2 separate regions of the Homo sapiens genome follow, and region 2 is linked to region 1. Evidence: promoter capture Hi-C in human tissues and cell types (Jung and others, 2019). All regions are on one chromosome and are shown on one strand. Each heading gives the region's core, a stretch centred on a gene start or on the middle of the fragment in contact. The rest is flanking DNA. Distances are from core to core; before and after follow the strand shown. Region 1 holds the start of VWA5A (von Willebrand factor A domain containing 5A). Region 2 has its middle 29 kb from the start of OR10D3.

Region 1 (5,283 bases), core at 1,585-4,084:
AGGAACTCAATATATAGTACTATGCATATTTTTAAATTCACTCTATCTATCCATTCATTCATGATAAGTTTCTGCTGAGCCCAGGTTGTCTGTGATATCTTCAAACACTTAATTTCCAAGTTATCGGTGATCATATGAAAATTATACCTATTAATTATAATTGTTATCACCAATATGTAATAAATGCTTATAAGATTTGTGCACGTCTGAGCATTTGTTATTTGAGCTTTTGAAATCTATTCTCCAGTATCTATAGTGGATTGCAATCACAAGACCTAAGCGTATATACAACCACTGGGATTTGTATGTATTTATTCATTAAACAAATAACTTCATGACTTTTAAAAACTTACTTTCTTAAAGGTTTACAATTTTAAGAGCACATAAAGGGCTCAAGTATGATAAAAACGGCAGGAAGTTTTAGGTGAATTGCTATGGAAACATCAGAGGAGAGAGAACAAGCAGAACTGGACACTTAAAACTCCATGATGATAGAGAACATTGAAGAAAGAGAATAACAGAAATGAGACAATGACCGAAACGACTTATTGAAAGCCTGTTCTGAACCAATGCTAAGCACTCTATGACAAACAGCCTTTTTATTTCAGGAAGGGAAATGGCTCTCAGAAGAACTGAAGAAAAATAAGTAGCAAACTATGATCAACATAATCAACACACACCGGCATAATTCAGGGCACATGTGTTACAGTGGTGGGCGCTAAAATAAATTGGATATTGTTCTCATAATATGCAGATTTCTATTTCCATTATAAGCAAATGTGCTTTTCATATTCTGAAGAAGATAGTTTCCTTAAAAGTCTACTTTTTAATTAATCATAATCAAATGTATTAGGGTAAGATAAGGACCCAAAGAGCTGTTATAAACCATGGAGAAATTTGTTACTTTATCCTGTAAAATTCTGTGATGATACAGTGGCTTGCTCTATGAGAGTCTCAGGGGCTCAGGATCTTTCTGTCTTGTTGCTTCTCCATTTTTAGGGGAAATGCTCCAGGCTTTATGATCTAGTCTTTATGGTTCAAGCTGGTTCAGTTACCTGCATTCACACCAATGAGCAGGAAGAGGGTAAAGTGAATGGGAAGCCATCCTCTTTTCTTTGAAAGGGCATGACATGGTGTTGCACTTATTTCTTGTACCCTATGGGCCAGAGCTTAGTTACAAGGCCACACCAGCTTTAAGGGAGGCTAGGCAATGTTTTTATTCTGAATGGTCATAGACATTGTGAAACTTGGGGTTCCTGTTAGTATAAAAAAGAAGGTGAGAATCAACCTTGAGGAATGCCTGGCAACACTAAGACAGACTTTTAAGTGAAGATATCTCATCTATATCGGTTTAATTGTGTATATTGTGCTAGGTTATGGGAATTTTCACATAGTTGTTTTTTCAACAACCAGCAACTTCTGTGTGTTTCCTGATTCAGTGCCCTCTAACCACGCTGCATGCCTGGTCTGTGGCAGACTTTTAGTGCTAAGCTCTAAGCCCAGCAGGATCAGATGATGAACTCTGCCCACGTTTCCAGCTCCTCCCTTTTGTTGCTCAGATGTTTCGGCCAATGGAAAGAAGGCACAGTCACAAGGAACAATACCAGACATGATTTCTCTCCAGAGAAAAGGATAATTTCCTCTCATAATTAGTTCAGTACATGTAAAAAACATGGTTGTAGGGCCTAGTACTGATAAAATAGAATTTGTGCTTATATTATGCTTTACTATATATGCATATATTACATGCATGTAACTGTATATACATGCATGGGTGTACATATATACACATATATACATCTATGCATGCACATCCATGTATATAAATGTGTATGTGGGTGTATATATATAAAGTATATAAATGTGTGTGTGTGTGTGTGTGTGTGTGTATATATATATATATATATATATATATAAAACTTTTATAGCCACTAAGATTCATTAGATCTCACAAAAACAATCAGTGGAGGTTTGTCATTATCCCCGTTTCAGATGAGAGAACAAATAACTTGGGGAGAGTTATTTGTATATAACAAATATCTCACAAAAACAAGTATATAACCAGTATATAACAAGTATATCCACAAAAAATACATCACAGAGACCAAAATCAAGCTGTGTTTTCCATATGTATCATGTATTCTTTATCCTATAGATTCTCGACAGCAATATGACACTTTAAGTCTCAGATTTAATAGGTTGTTTTGAAATAGAGAAGCCATGGGGACCTTGATCGCTTCTAATGTCCTTTAGCCAGGTAAATGAGCATAGACATTCTCAGTTACTTACATCGTTAACCCAAACATTTGGTTTCAGGATCCCATAAGCGACCCATGACAGGAAGACTTGGGCTTCCCTGGCTAGAGCTTCTCTCATTAGAGCAGATGTGTGTGCCTTGCACTATCTCCTTATCTTTCCCCCTGCTGTAGGGGAGGGGCAACTTGGGGGAAAATGACTCACATTAGAGATAAGGTGTCAATGATATAATCTCCATAAAGCTTTGATTAACAGGGCCCAGGACACAGTAAGCCTTTGGCAATTAAGCTTTTACAAAAATATGCAGTTTTTAATGTCATTGTTGTTGTTCCTGTTGCAGCATTTTCCCTTGCCCTCTTTGCCTGTTCTCTGATTGTTCCTTAGCAAAGAGCAAAGAAAAAAACCAAACGTTCCAAAGTCGAAGACTTTTCCTTTGATACAAACAAGCGAAAGTTCGATTATTTGTTCAATAATTTTCCGTTGATCCCTTAGTCTTGTAGTCGCTACTTTATAACCGGTCCCTAGAAGGGGGCGGTTCTTTCCGGAAATTATGACTGCAGCTGTTTTCACTCCGCTGTGACTCAGAGCGCTCCGGGCTGCAGGAGAGGAAGGTAGGGGACCAAGCTACCGGTGCAGGGCCTGGATCCAACCCCTGCTCTGGAAGACTGAGAGCTCCACATTCTAGCTCCCTTTCCCCAGTCCCCAAATTTGTAGGGGCTCCTTGAATTGCACGCCCCATGGGTGGAGGATTTCATCCTGATGTATGATCCCCAGGAAGGTTCCTGCAAGTTTGGCAGTTTAGGGGAATCTTTTGGAGGTTGAAGGAGGGATTTAGCCATCTCCTAATCTCAAGGCCCTTCTTCCTACTTTCCTTCTCTTTTACTTTACTTTTTTTCCCGCTTTCTTTCTTTGATATAGACAATTGATGTTTTCTCAGTTTCAGGATAGTGTAAGCTGAGGAAATGAGGCTGTAAGCCTCATCTACTCCAATCAGTTGCAGCCCCTAAGCCCTTCTCTATAGAAATGTAAGAGACCGACGCAGTCTCTTCTGTAAATACGTGGACATTGGAAATCTAGGACTGAATGGAAAGGTTAAATCAATCTCTGATTTTATCCAAGCCCCACTTCTTACCCCAAATCTCCTCCTTGTCTGGTTCCGAGTTCTCCACTTCACCCCTGCCACAGGCCGCAGGGGTGTGTGTGGCCGGTGGTGCCACCCAGCTCCCCTCCCACCCTCCTAGCTGCTGAGCGGCTGGTGCTGGGACTCTGCATTCCTGAAGCAGCTACCTGGCTAGGCCGGAAGCCTTGTATTCTCCCAGCTGCCTCAGATTCATGGCTTTCAGCTTGGTGGCCAGTCTCTACCTAAGCCTTGCAAGTTGCCTTTCTGAAGTGCCATCCTGAGAGACAGAACTAATTCTGACCCAAACTAATTTTGTTTGTACTGGGAAGAGTGGGGGCAAGGGTGCAGAATAGCAAGTTTTCCTCAACGGAGGATTTGTTCTGAGCTTAGAATCAGGAAGCGAAGGCTATTTCCTTGTAGGGGTGCCCTTTGCGTCTCTCTCTCTTTTACTCTAGCCACCTTGGTGAGTATTGCCCAGCCTGAGAGCTTCTCTTTCAGCTGTTTTACTCCTGTGTGAGTCTCCTGCTTTAGGCTCTCTGCTTAATGTGTTATTAGAAATTCTTCCCTCCCCCAGCCCAGCCTGTTCTACCAGAGAACTTGCCCAGGTCAGAGGTCTGCGTAGAAGCCCTTTTCTGAGCATCCTCTCCTCTCCTCACACCTGCCACTGTCCTCTGCGTTGCTGTCGAATTGTGAGTCATTTTGCCACACTCAGTTTTTATCCAATTTCTCAAAATAAAAACAGATATGGAATGAAAAGCCTGATTTATTGGTGCTGTTTAGTGGGGGTGCAAATGTAGGCTATGTGCCTATATAATATTTAAATATATTAGAATATCTTGGATGGATACAAACAAATATACTCGTATCTTTTAATTTTGGGTCCCAAAAGAAAAGCCACAAGGTAAATGGCCTGTGGCAGGAGTCCATCTTGAATCACACAGCTTCTCACATGCAGCGCGTCTCTGAATGCCATGATCCAAAGTGAATGGTGGCAGAGGTTTATTGATTAACAGTAACAACAATAATAGGGACAATAGTGATGTCTGTCATCATTGATTAAATGCCTCCTATGGCCCATGTGCTATTGTAGGGACTTCACATGTATTAATTCACATACGATGTGTGGATATTATACTACTCATTTTGGAAAGAAAATACTGAGGCTCAGAGGGATTAGTGACACCTACTCCATATGCCCAAGGAGTGGTGAATTAAATACACTTTTGAGAAAGTGGAATTGGTATTTGAACCAGCCTCAGGGTGTTTCAGAGATTTCCTGTTTAGTAGATACCAGTGAATCTTACACCTTCCCCACCTGGGACTGCCATTTAAAAGGACCCTTATGACTGAAATCTTTGTCTCCTTTTTTTTAAAGGTTCCAACTTCCTAACTCCAACATTAACCCTTTGAATGTATTCTTATGCCAGAGAAAGGCACATAAAGTACTGGTGTTTGAACAGATAACTTCCAACATGTCCTCTGTTTGTGATATGTCTTTTCTGCAGAAATCTTGCATCACCATGGTGCACTTCTGTGGCCTACTCACCCTCCACCGGGAGCCAGGTAAGCCTAATTTGTGACTCTTACTTGCCATTGAATCTTTGGCACCTATCACAAGGCTTGATCTACAAGGAGGCAATCTATTGAAGCTTGATGAACTTGAACTCTGGTCTATCTCCAGTGCCGCTGAAGAGTATCTCTGTGAGCGTGAACATTTACGAGTTTGTGGCTGGTGTGTCTGCAACTTTGAACTACGAGAATGAGGAGAAAGTTCCTTTGGAGGCCTTCTTTGTGTTCCCCATGGATGAAGACTCTGCTGTTTACAGCTTTGAGGCCTTGGTGGATGGGAAGAAAATTGTAGCAGAATTACAAGACAAGATGAAGGTAGTAGAGATTACCTCCTCCCT
Region 2 (5,283 bases), core at 1,416-3,915, 96 kb after region 1:
CCAGGTTCTCGTCCTGAGACCAGAAAGAATAAGGCACGCAGACAAGTGGAAGGTAAGCAAGACACAGAGGAGCTTTATCGCACAATAGAACAGCTCAGAGGAGACCTGCAATGGGCAGCTCCTCTCCATAGCAGGGTTTCCCAATGAGTGTCAAGCTCTCAGCAGAGAGGGTAGTTCCTCTCTGCAGGTGGTCACCCAGTCATCTCTTCAGCTCTCAGCAGAGAGGGTATCTCCTCTCTGCTAGGCAGGTCATCCCGTCAAGTGCCCAGCTCTTAGCAGAGAGGGTAGTTTCTCCCTGCAGCTGGTCGTCCTATCATCTCCTTGGTTCTCAGCAGACAGGAAACCCTGGGGTGGTCAGCTCCTCTCTGCAGCTGGTCATCTCATCATCTCCCTTTGTCTCTCCATCCTCTGCTCCAGTTTGGCCGACTCTGGGGTTTTTATGGGCCTCAGAGGGGAGAAAACGTGTACTGATTAGTCCATGAGTCGCCGTAGGGAAAAGCACCATAAGTTCCCCCTCTGGTCTGTGGGACTGGTGACCCCATCCCCAAGCTTCAGGCCCTCTCCAGCTTGGAGGTAGGGCTTCACCAAGGACCCGCCACCTTCTGCCCAGGAGCCTGCCTGAGCATGTGCACCCCCGGCTGGGCTACAACAATGCCCGGGCTTGGTCCTGACTCAGAGCTGGCACCAACAGCAGAGAGAAGCCAGGCAGAGGGAGCAGGCACCCTCATCCCACCGAGGGCCAGGGGAGCCTTCCCAGGCCCCCAAGTCTGCAGAGATGCCTGGGCCTGCAGCCACAGCAGACATGGCAGGATGGCTGCAGCTGCACCCAGGGAGTTCCCACCCTGCCAGCTTGGAAGGGGCCGGACTCCTGCTTATCCTTGGCCCTGCAGCATGCAGCCCCAGCCACGCCTCCTTTAAGCCTGGGGCAGGGGCTCCAAGTCCTTGCTGGGCCTGGGCTGGCATCCAGGGCAGGAGTGACATCAACATAAGTTCTTCCCATGGCCCTGGTGCTCAGGGGTGGCCCAGGGCTCCCACTTGGTCAGCTTGTGACCCTGCCTCAGGGGCACCTCTAGGAGCCGATTTCAGGTCCTGGGACTAGAGGTCAGGAGTGTCAGGCTTGGTGGTTGTCCAGATGCAGGGCAGACCCCTGAGACTCAACCCCCAGTGCAGAGCCTTTTCTCAGGGCACAGGAACCTGGCACCATCAGCAAGGTGGGCATGGTGGCCATGCCACTGGCCAGGTCCCCAAAGCAGATGTTACCTCTGGCCCATCCTCCACACTCCATCTCCAACCACAGCACCATGCTGGGCCCAGCTCTGCCTCGGGGCCATCTCTGCCAGGCCTCCATGCCCAACCGTGCTGCTCCCCCACCAGGAAACTCGGCCCAGCCCCTTCGTGGTGGTCCCCACCATGACAGGCTCCAGGTGGCTTCCAGGGGCGGGGTCCAGAGACTGTCTGCCTCCTCCCCAGCCCCTCCCCACAGCAGTGGCAGGCAAGAGTGGTGACATGGGGCCAGGGTCAGGAGCCACAGAGTCTCTAGGCCTAGGGGTGGGTCTTACCTGGTCATGCAAAGGTGGGGGTGGCTCAGTTGCCTGCCTTGGAGACATGGGGGACAGGGGTCCCACCACCGTTATTGCTGCCCCTGCAGCCTCTCCTGCCACAACCGCTGGCCTCCCCACTGCAGCTGGCACCATGGTAGCGGCGGTTCTGGATGGCCTACTTTTGCCATCAATATAACGTTTAACAAAACATGAAATATAATTTTACTTCCAAAATAATTTAGTTTTATATAAGTACAAAAATAACTTCTGTAACACATATGTCTTTATTGTTCCTCAATATCATTCTTATTTTTTGATGAAAAAAGTCATCAACTCTCCTTGTTAGGCTTACTAGGAACTCCTCAGGGTCTTGGCAATATCTATCATATTTTAACTTGGGGACTGAATGAAAGCATTTTCTTCTTCATTGATCTGAAAGGAAACAGCCCTCAAGTTAAAACATTTCAAGCATTACTGTTTTATGAATACATCATGATATCAAAATATCATTAGTAGAGGTAAATGAAAATGAAAACTTTCAAATTTTAGAAACATTTGTTGTTATTTCTGATTTTCTATTTTCCCCTTGTGACAAATCACTTTAGACAATTCCTTTAATGTATGTTTTAAAAATTGGCTGAAATTTTGAACTTTTCATTGTCTCACTAAAGAGATGAAACTCACTAGAGCTCCAACAAAGTCTCTCACATCCTCATTTCCAATCTGTAATATTACAAGAACAATGAATCACAACATATGCCAATAGGGAAACACTTGAGAACCAAGAGGGGGAAAGGGAAATTCTAATTGTTTCTTTTCCCAAGAGCTGACATTTGTGGGAATAGAATCTAGAGGGAGATCATTATCATTGTTTGTTCCCTATCAGACTCTTACTCTTACCCAGCATATAAAATCCTCACATCAGCCACCCTTTGCAGAGTGCCAGATGGCTTTAGGCATCAGCTTTGTCAGAGATCAGGATGAATGACTCAAAATAATTGCCAAGGAGACTTTTGGGCTATGACCTCCTCGTACCATCAGATTCATTTTTCCCTCCAGAGCAATGGAGAAGAAAAATGTACAACCCTGGACCCTGGCAGAAAGGATGGGTATGTATGAGTCCCAGTCTTTGACTTTAAAATCTTGGAGTCTCCTGTTCCAGCTTCTTTCGCAGTGCAAAGAGAGATGCACACAGCTATTCATCTGTCTCTCCCTGTCCTTATTCTCACATTCACATGCCTTGATGAGCAGTGGTTCCCTTGTCATCTACTTGTTCTCTGCAATATACATTTATGACAAACACTTCTGTGTTTACTCATTTCAATTCAGGCAGTAAGAGGGTTTTTATTCAGTTATTTTGAATCCATATTTACATATCTCTAAGCTTCTTTGAGCAATTTTATTGAACATATATGTATTGAGTTGCTATATGCAAGGCACTACACCAAGCACTATATTGAATTTATAGTCTAGTACAGAAGAAAAGCAAATAAATAAATAATAATAACATAGAATGAAATTAGTGTTACATGTAAACATAAGAAATATATGTATGGACATAGAAAATGGCCTTATTAAGTAGAGTTTGCACTATTAAATGGCCTTATTAAGTAGAGTTTGCACTATTAAAGCCCTTAACTAAAGAGCCTTAACTATTAAATAGGATGTCATAGGCTACAGATGATAGACAAAGAGAAAAATTAAAGGGGCATCATGAGTTAAAACTGAGAGAGTACCAAATGGCCAAATCATGTAATAGCCAAATCATATAGTACTTGTTGGGACATAAAAGAAGAAAACTTTTATTTTGGTTGCCAGATGATAACAATCTTTGAATAAGAGATATTGATTTGAGCTTCCTATGAGGAAATGAAAAATAGTGCTGATTTAAAGAGGTTACTGTTCAGTAAAAAAAATAATTCTGAATCTCTGTGTTAATATGTGTATCCATGTAGGAAGGAGCAAAAACAAGATATGCTGAGGGAGGGAAAAAACCTTCAGCCATCATTATTGGAATAAAAATTTGAGCAAATAAAAAATATTTCAGAGAAGGCTCAATAGATTACAGTTAAAATAACACTGACATTTATTAAGTTCTTACCAACAGATGGGAACTATGCGTCTTTTGATTTTTACATGAGAATGATATTAACATTTCTACTTTTTAGAGGCCTGAAGACGAGAAGTAATTTTCTCAAGATCACACAGCATGTATATGGTTGAGATGATATTTTAACCCAGACTGCCTGATCTAATATCATAGCCCATTAGAATTTTAAATCATGAAATATTGGAACCAGAAGATATATTAAAGCTGATTGAATTCAAGCACCCATCTCATGCTGTGTCCTTGAATAATGTCTGCTAAATGGTTATACAAGCTGACTCTGACATTTCTGGCTATAAGTAAATTAAGGTGTGTTTGACTTTTGGAATGTTCTTTTTTGTTGTGAAACCAAATATTTCTCTCCATCATTTGAAGCACTTAGTTTTTATTTTTTCTCTCTTAGAGACATATACAAGGAGCCCTATACCTCTTAGATATTTTGAACATTTGGATATAAATGCCATGTGCCACATATATTTATATTGTGCTAGCTAAAACCTCAGTTATGTCAGTCATTATTCAAATGACAATATTTTTAGATCATGTTTCTGATATTGTCCAGTTTTTCTATATTCCACATAAAATATTAAACCCTAAACTGAAAACACTAATCCAGCTATTGCTGGAGTGTTACATAAGACCATAAATTTCTTTCATCTAGAATCTACTAATTTTCTTTGCAAAAGTAAATATGTATTAGCCTTTTTTGAAAATCCACATCACACTGTTGACTAGTTTTATATTTAGACTAAGATTGTGAATTGTATTTTGCATGTGCTCTACTAATCCACATAGCCATTATCTTTAAATTTTATAGTGAGCACAGGCAAAATATATGATTATAAAAAGTGATCAGTATAGAAGATATCTAATGTTTGTTTTCAGAAAGCCTTCTCGGTTTTGGAGAATATGAGTACTTTTCTGATCTTCTCCAATTCAGCCACGAAGTACACTTAATGTAGACCAATCATAGTTTTCTGCTCCCCTGGCCAGAATGGGATAATAGGTGACCTGCATTGAGACCATTGTATTACTCCCTTGGGATTATTCAAATTAGAACAAGAGAGGCAATTCCCTCACTGTTGGAAAAGCTCCTGAGGTATAAGGATGCTATCAGCCACGCAGTTATGTTTTTGCCTTGCAGAATAGCAGGTCTGGGTGAAGAAAGTTGAGAAATAAAGAGCTGAAATTTCGGGCAGAATGAGACAGGTCATTACCCAGTTCTTCAGCTATTTTTAGTTGAAATTCTCATAAGAAAAGTAACTCAGACTAATATAACTAATTTTATAAACTCATGCCTTCTATTTTTAGATAGATTAGATAGATAGATTAGATAGATAGATAGATAGATAGATAGATATGAGGTCTTGCTTTGTTGCCCAGGCTTGTCTCAAACAAGTGATCCTCCCACCTCAGCTTCCCAAAGTGCTGGGATTACAGGCATGAGCCACTGCGCCCGGCCAGGACTTCTATATTGATACATTATAAGGAGCATTTGGTTCTCTTTCCTAATCTGAGTAAAATGAAAATCTCATGGCTATGCTATTTGATGTGCATGACGTATTTATATCCTAGAGAATATGGTAGGAAAGAAAAGAATCCTCTGAAATAACATTAGTAGCTTGCTTTCTTATT

What was found. The method cuts DNA at HindIII sites, captures the fragments that hold promoters and counts their contacts. A contact is called where the count stands out against the background at its distance.
Region 2: a contact is called between a fragment that was not itself captured here and the fragment with the promoter of VWA5A in region 1, in 2 of the 25 tissues and cell types used here (H1 embryonic stem cells and thymus).

What each region holds. Positions count from the first base shown.
Region 1 is chr11:124,112,616-124,117,898 of GRCh38, forward strand. VWA5A (von Willebrand factor A domain containing 5A) reads left to right here and starts at 2,835. Exons shown (of 19, transcript NM_001130142.2): 1 at 2,835-2,867; 2 at 3,951-4,065; 3 at 4,882-4,939; 4 at 5,058-5,260. The coding sequence starts at 4,897. The HindIII fragment of the contact is 8,575 bases long and covers 1-5,283 here.
Region 2 is chr11:124,209,221-124,214,503 of GRCh38, forward strand. It overlaps the pseudogene OR8G3. Among named protein-coding and RNA genes, the nearest start is that of OR10D3, 29 kb to the left of the region's middle. The HindIII fragment of the contact is 4,968 bases long and covers 182-5,149 here.